Regions from separate parts of the Homo sapiens genome. Here region 2 is linked to region 1. The links are contacts of gene promoters, found by promoter capture Hi-C in blood cells and fetal thymus (Javierre and others, 2016). All regions are on one chromosome and are shown on one strand. The core of a region is centred on a gene start or on the middle of the fragment in contact, and the rest is flanking DNA. Distances in the headings are between cores, read along the strand shown. Region 1 holds the start of H2AC1 (H2A clustered histone 1). Region 2 holds the start of SLC17A1 (solute carrier family 17 member 1).

Evidence for each region. The method cuts DNA at HindIII sites, captures the fragments that hold promoters and counts their contacts. A CHiCAGO score of 5 or more calls a contact.
Region 2: the fragment with the promoter of SLC17A1 here is called in contact with the fragment with the promoter of H2AC1 in region 1 in 3 of 17 cell types (naive CD4 T cells, total CD8 T cells and M0 macrophages); the score reaches 5.3 in naive CD4 T cells.

Annotation. Positions count from the first base shown.
Region 1 is chr6:25,724,297-25,727,998 of GRCh38, reverse strand. H2AC1 (H2A clustered histone 1) reads left to right here and starts at 1,437. Exons shown (of 1, transcript NM_170745.3): 1 at 1,437-1,936. The coding sequence starts at 1,472. The coding sequence ends at 1,867. It overlaps H2BC1 (H2B clustered histone 1), which reads right to left and starts at 1,222. Exons shown (of 1, transcript NM_170610.3): 1 at 654-1,222. The coding sequence starts at 1,090. The coding sequence ends at 707. It also overlaps a transcript of SLC17A1 not described here. The HindIII fragment of the contact is 12,318 bases long and covers 1-1,761 here.
Region 2 is chr6:25,829,762-25,833,677 of GRCh38, reverse strand. SLC17A1 (solute carrier family 17 member 1) reads left to right here and starts at 1,626. Exons shown (of 13, transcript NM_005074.5): 1 at 1,626-1,684; 2 at 3,071-3,154. The coding sequence starts at 3,121. The HindIII fragment of the contact is 946 bases long and covers 1,541-2,486 here.

The DNA.
Region 1 (3,702 bases), core at 188-2,687:
GCTGTCACCAGGCTGTAGTGCAGTGACGATCTCGGCTCACTGCAATCTCCGGCTCCTGGGTTCAAGCGATTCTCTTGCCTCAGCCTCCCAATTAGCTGGGACTACAGTGCACGCCACCACGCCCACCTGATTTTTGTATTTTTAGTAGAGACGGAGTTTCACCTTGTTGGCCAAGATGGTCTCCGTCTCTTAACCTCATGAACCGCCAGCCTCGACCTCTGCAAGTGCTGGGATTACAGGCGAGTCACGGTGCCTAGCAAGGATTGTCTTGCTGCAACTAGTTCGTCTACCCTCGGCCCACAGCTGATTTGGATATATTCGCAGTGGCTCACGCCTGTAGTCCCAGCACTTTGGGAGACCGAGGTGGGTGATCACCAGATCGAGTTTGAGACCATCCTGGCCAACATGGTGAAACCCCGTCTCTACTAAAAATACAAAAATTAGCCGGGTGTAGTGGTGGGAGCCTGTAGTCCCAGCTGCTCAGGAGGCTGAGGCAGGAGAATGGCGTGAACTCAGGAGGCAGAGCTTGCAGTGAGCCGAGATTCCGCCACTGCACTCCAGCCTGGGAGAGTGAGACTCCGCCTCAAAAAAAAAAAAAACCCTTACGGTTAGAAACTACACAAAAACGAAGCCCACAGCTGTTTCAGTATGTTTAAGTGGCTCTGAAAAGAGCCTTTGGGTTAGAAATGACGTTTACTTAGCAGGCTTACTTGGAGCTGGTGTACTTAGTGACAGCCTTGGTGCCCTCAGACACAGCATGTTTAGCCAGCTCTCCCGGCAGTAGCAAGCGCACTGCTGTCTGAATCTCTCTGGAAGAAATGGTGGAGCGCTTGCTGTAGTGAGCCAAACGTGATGCCTCGCTCGCTATACGCTCAAAGATATCAGTGACGAAGGAATTCATAATGCTCATAGCTTTCGAAGAGATGCCAGTGTCCGGATGGACCTGCTTTAGCACTTTGTAGATGTAAATAGAATAACTCTCCTTACGGGTCCTCTTGCGCTTTTTGCCTTCCTTTTTCTGGGTCTTAACGACAGCTTTCTTAAAGCCCTTCTTGGAAATGGTAGCACCTTTAGATGACACCTCCGGCATAGCTACCACACACTTCTGCAGCGTTACACGGTTCTTTTCCAGGGTTACACAGCACTTTCCAGTGCTCAACAGCTCTTCAGTATTAAACAGCTCCAAATGACCTCAGCTCCAAGTCTCGCCAAGTAAACAAACAGAACTGGAGGATGAAAGATGCGGTATTTATAGGCACGGCCCTCAAACGCCGCGTTCGGTATCCAAAATCTGATTGGACAATGGGAAGTGGCGTGAATGCAAATGAGGCGATTCTAGTACGACTTTCTGATTGGGTAGACGGCCATCAGCCAATCAGATAGCAAATGCCAACCTCAGTCAGACTATAAATAGGCCCAGTAGCAGCCCTAGAAATGTGGTTCTCGTGTTGCTGCAATTTGATGCGAGGAGATGTCTGGACGAGGGAAGCAGGGAGGAAAAGCACGCGCCAAGTCTAAGTCTCGCTCTTCTAGAGCGGGTTTGCAGTTTCCCGTAGGCCGGATCCATCGTCTGCTTCGTAAGGGAAACTATGCAGAGCGGATAGGGGCAGGCGCACCAGTGTATTTGGCGGCAGTGTTAGAGTATCTCACAGCAGAAATCCTTGAGCTGGCAGGCAATGCGTCTCGCGATAACAAAAAAACTCGCATTATTCCCCGCCACCTGCAGCTAGCGATCCGCAATGATGAGGAACTCAATAAGCTTTTGGGCGGCGTGACCATTGCCCAGGGCGGAGTCCTGCCTAACATTCAGGCAGTGCTGCTGCCCAAGAAGACTGAGAGTCACCACCATAAAGCCCAAAGCAAGTAACTTAAGGTTGTCATTGGTAAAAAGACTTCTGTGTCAGAAAAAACAAAAGGCTCTTTTCAGAGCCACCTACCGTCTCAGAAAAAGGCTGTACGTTACAAAACGTTACTGCTGTTAACCAGCCATCTTACTTGCCTGTCACAAATGCCCGTTTAAGCGCATTTCGGGAATGTACGGGGACTGAATTTTCAAGGAGCGTTCCATCGGCCATTAGTTTGAGGTAATTTTGGTTATATATGTCACTGGGCGAGGTGGCTTAACGCTTGTGAGCAGTCAGTACTTGCACTTCAGTGGAGGTTGGAGCGGGAGGGTCGTTCAAGCCTGGGGCTTGACCGTTAACATAATTGAGACCCTGTCCCCACAGAAACTAGCTGGGTCTGGTGATGCAGGCCTGTAGTCCCAGCTGTTCGGGAGGCTGCGGTGGGAGGGTTGTTCATGAGTCCGGGAGGCGAAAGTTACAGTGAACGAAGATTGATTGCTCCACTGCACTCCAGTCTGGGTGACATGAGCGAGACTATCTCAAACTAGATTTATGTATGTTAGTTATGTTAAGGGTTACACATGGAAGTGAAAATTGCATTACAAGCAGGAGAGGTGTAATCTTCCTGTTTAAATCCAGGTAACATCAGTCTGGCTGGTTAAAGTACATTTTAGAGAATTTCCTTTCAAATATGGTAGTTTCACGAAATACTCATAATTAAATGTGGCATGTAAGTAAGTTAATCTTAAAATTTGGGTAAGCATATATATTTGATACCTGTGGTTTCACGTACTTTGTAAAGAATAATAGAATTATTTCTTAAAATGTAAGTAAAATATGTCAAAAAGAAGCCTTACGCCATATGTGATGGTGAGATACTAGTGTTAGACTCAGGCAGGAATGGGACTAGAAGGCCGAACATAATTTGAAGTTTAGAAATTTGGAAGAGTATATGCTTCAAAAGTTTTGACTGTTGAAAAGAGGCAAAATAGTTTGTTGATCTGTGTTTGCAGTTTGTGCTGTAAACACCAAGAGAAAGTGAAAAGCAAAACCCATTCAGTAACGCTGCCAAATAACTAAATTAAAAATTATTGTACGATATTCAACAGTTGACCTTACCTCAAAAAAAAAAAAAATCATTTGGTTACCAAAAAAAAAACTGCTAAACACTTGATGTCTACACATAATAAGGCATGTATAGAAGCAGGTAAAGTTCTATAAAATAAAACATGCCGAGTAAGGACAATCAAGTTACAAAAGTATGAATTAACCTGCATACATAATAAATAAGGGATGCAGTTAGGGACGGCAAAAATTGAAGATATTTGAAAACAGAAATGGCAACTATATGTTGAATAAAACTGGGTAATATTTAGAACATGGCAAATGTAAAACTTAAAATCAGGATATAAGACAAACCTAAACAGATGAATTCCAAGTAATTAATGTAGATACTTTGTCAAGAAAGTGGCACTTAACTTCTCAGACTTGCCAAGGCAGAGGAGGAGGGACTTGACTTTATAGAAGAGAACCTGTGTATTCTTTTATTCCAAATGCACTACATAATACTTTTATTTCTATCTCTAATGCAATCCTATTAAAATTGCATTAAACTAAATGTTTAGATAGAATAAAATATATTAAAAAATTGTGAATACATGTTACAGGAGACATGCCCCCTTGATTTTTCAAAACAATTTACCTACAGAAGTTTCTGATTCTTCTTTTTTTGGAGCCAGAGTCTCGCTCTGTCACCCAGGCTGGAGTGCAGTGGCGTGATCTCGGCTCATTACAACCTCCAGCTCCCAGGTTCAAGTGATTCTCCTACCTCAGCCTCCTGAGTAGCTGGGATTACGGG
Region 2 (3,916 bases), core at 377-2,876, 110 kb before region 1:
ATTGAAGTGGGTGAATATGTACACAGTTATCTTAAACTGATCTACTTTTTTGTATGCTTAAACATTTCCATAATAAAATGATAAATTTAAAAATTTAATACATAAAACACAGAATCCAAAAGAAACAATTTCAAAGAATCTCACAGAGCAGCAGAAAGCTTTGGGGCCAGCAAACAGAAAGATGGTTCTCCTTCAGGTAATCAGTATCCAGAACTGGGATACTGATGGCAGATGGGAGTGTTATTATTTAACACATGGACTTTGAACAACTGCTGACCTAGGGGTTTCAATCACTAAAAGGGCTCCTCTTTCAGAAAATGCCAGAAATTGCCCAGCATGAAACAGGACAGTACAAACATTCTGCAACACACAGAAGAGGACCAGCAGAATCTGGACTTTTGAAAAAGAAAAAATCTAACTGAATAACAACATCAAAGTCTCCTGGGCAAAGGGGTTAAAGATTTACAACATTTCTTTAGAGGAAAAAAATAACTGGTTGAATTTACAGAGCATCTGCTATGTGCCAAACATTTAATGAGCACTTTAAAAGCATGATAAAAATTAAAAAAAAACTTGTTAAGCATGAAATAAATTACCTATAATGCAAAATCACTGATTTTAGTGCTTGGATATTTTTAAGTAATTAGTAGATTACCTTCAAAGAGTTCTAAGTTAAAAGTATTAGGGGCCAGGCACGACGGCTCACGCCTGTCATTCCAACACTTGGGAGGCCAAGGCACAAGGATTGCTTGTGGCAGGAAGTTTGATATCAACCTGGGCAACACAGCAAGACCCTGTCTCTACCAATTAGCTGGGTACAGTGTTGCATACCTGTAATCCCAGCTACTTGGGGCTGAAGTGGAAGGATCCCTTGAGCTCAGGAGTTCAAGTCTGCACTGAGCTATAATTGCACCATAGCACTCCAGCCTGGGTGACAGTGTGAGATCCTGTCTCTCTATGTTTTTTTTTTAATGTTTCTGGATATTGCTATAACCAAGTGGATGAACCAGAACCTACAGTAATTGCAGGAAGAGCCATGAGAGAAGCCACACCTTCCAGAGGACATGCCTCAATAAAATGTACCTCTTTCTGAGTATGCTGAATGTCAAACAGATGTACTGTTTAGAGAGGAGTGTGGAGGAGACAGGGTGAGGGAAGGAGGGAAAGCAAGGAAGGAGGGAGAAGGAAGAAGGGAAAGAGAAGGAAGAAAGAAAGAAAAAAGGAAGAAAAGGAGGAAGAAAGGAAGGAAGGGAATTAAGAGTAAAAATTTAATATGGCATTTATGGGGCATTTAGAAAGCCACAACATTCCTGTGAGAACAGCATTGTATACTCAGAGCCATCCTTAATAGAGAAATCTTGAGAGCACTTATGGCAGGCAAGCTCTACCTCCTGGGCAGGGAGAGAGACTAAGGGTGTCTGCTTATTATGCCATGAAATTACTGGCAGATTCCCAGTTTCTGGTCCACTGGATGATTTTGACCCACACACCTTCCCTGAAGCTTTAAGGAAAAGGTAACAGTAAAGTTAAAAATTAAGCTTTTAACTTCGACACAGTGATGTCAAAAGATTTGGTGAATGATTTATGGGGCTAAACTTGGTAATCCTAGAAAGTCAATATTGTGTAAAGTTGAGAGAAAAGTCTTCACAGCGGAAGAAGAAATCACTTTTTTGTCCCGAATCAGGTTAGTCTACGGGGCTCATTAAATGAAATGAGCAATCAGTTGATTCCCCAGAGGGCCGTAAGGGGGCATTCCCTGGCAAAGATATTATTGAAAGTACTTAGCAATAGGGGAAAATGTGGGGAGGGGTGGAATATGCCCTATCTTCTGAGGCTTTTCACAAGAGAAAAAAGAACATATTTTTAGCAATCAGTGTGAGGTTCACAGGGACACAAGGAAAGAGAAGTATGTGTTGTACAGTGTGTGATGCTTGTATAGCTGTGGTGTGCTGTGTCTGTAATGTGTGTGGCACACTGTGTACGCCTGGTGCATCTGTGCCCATCATTTATGTGTGTGTGTGGTTATGTGTGTGGTGTTTGTAGTTTGTACTTCCGTTTTGAGGATGCAGTATTGTAACGTATTTATATGTTTGGTTTGCTATGTGTCTGGAGTGTATGTGTGGAGAACATAAGGGGAGTTTGTACCATGTGTTTATGTTGTATGTATGTATGTGGTGCATACGTATGGGTGGTTTGTGTGTGCATTTGGTGTGTATGTATATATGTATTGAAATAAACAGCAGCCCCAGAAGAGGTTCCAATGTGTGATAATGATGGTTGACAAATTGCTTATTCAAAAATATTTTGCAAATCCAATCTCAGGACTTTGGTATCTTTGGGGCACTAGGTATCATATAATCTGATATGGTAAAATCCTGAGGTCTAACCTGACCAGCACATATTGGTGCTGAATTCTGATGGTAAGGGGTTGCCTGATAGGAGACTGCTCCATTCTGATTCTCCACTGAGCTTCCTGCCATAAAGCTTTGCATCAGTGGCTGCTCTATCCACGGAAACTGAAGATACGGACAGGGGCATGTGGACGTGTAACGAATGATTAGCCTCTGCTTGAGTTGATCTTATCAATAAGCAGATAGTATCTTCCAGCTCTATTAAGATACAGGGGGAAAAAAGGAATTTGTTTTACCTTTGCTTACTCCTTTTCTGACATTCTTCCTTTCTTTTCATACTGCCGAGTTTCTGACCTATAGCAATCTCCTTCTGCCTGAAAGGCTTCTTTTAGTGTTCCTTACAGGGCAGGTCTACTGGCAATGAATTCTTTCCATTTCTCACTTTGGAGGAATATTATCACGGATTTAGAATTCTGGATTGGCAGGGTTATTTGTTTGTTCTCTGTAGTTTTCAGGTCTTCCATATATTTTTAATCAACCAAAACAATCACAAAAGTAAAATAAATATCAAGGGAAGCACATAATGGAGGTGAATGGGCACTGCTGTGATGGAGCAAGTTATCCTTGGAAGCGGTTTTAAATCAGAGAGGAGTACTGGGTAGTGTTTGGTCAGTTGCCTCTCTACATTATGCTGACATCAACGTGTTTTGCACTCACAGTGGGTGGAGGCAAAACCCTTCAGCAAGAAGAGAAGCAACTTCAGCCGTGTATGCAAATGGATAACCGGTTGCCTCCCAAAAAAGGTAGCACTTTATTCTGTTCCATTAAACAGGTGTTCTTTTTCTTAAATATTACATCACAGATTCCATGTGGAAGAATATTTTTGTGATATACATATGGGGTCTTAAAAATGTTCAGAAAAGAAGGTAGAAGAAACCAGTCCTACTATGGTTTTCCACCAGAAAAGCCCTAAATAAAAAGATTCTACATACTCTGGTGGCTTACACTTTATTTTCATTTTTGCGCACTTGTCAGTTTATCATTTAGTGGAAAATATCAGAAAAAACTGGGCTATTTTGGTTCCATCTCCAAGAGAAAGAGAGATAGATCTGTAAGTGGAAGTAAGGCAGGATGAATGTTCTTGAGTCCCTGCATTCTTGGACATCAACAGCTGAATGTGTACTGAATATTTTTTGAGAGAAGCTGTTTATTTTAGGCAGGGTAGTGTAATGACAATAAAGGATTACTGCTATTGGTTTAGCGTTGTGTCAATGTCATAGGGGACAAAATCCCAGAAAAGGAGATGAGCGATAGATTGTATACTTTTTCAACTTATGAAAAAGTTACTGTATATTAAATTATGTATTTCTTCTTGTATCAACTTTGATACTTAATTATTTTGATTGTTTAAGTTGTCCATTTAATCTGCATTCAAAGTTTATATATATATGTTTTTTTCTATATATTATTCATTTCTGCCCTTATGCATTTAATTCCTTTTAGACTTTTTGGGTTTGTTCCTTTGCTCAGTTTCCAAGTGTTTAAATTCTTTCTTTTTTGATAAA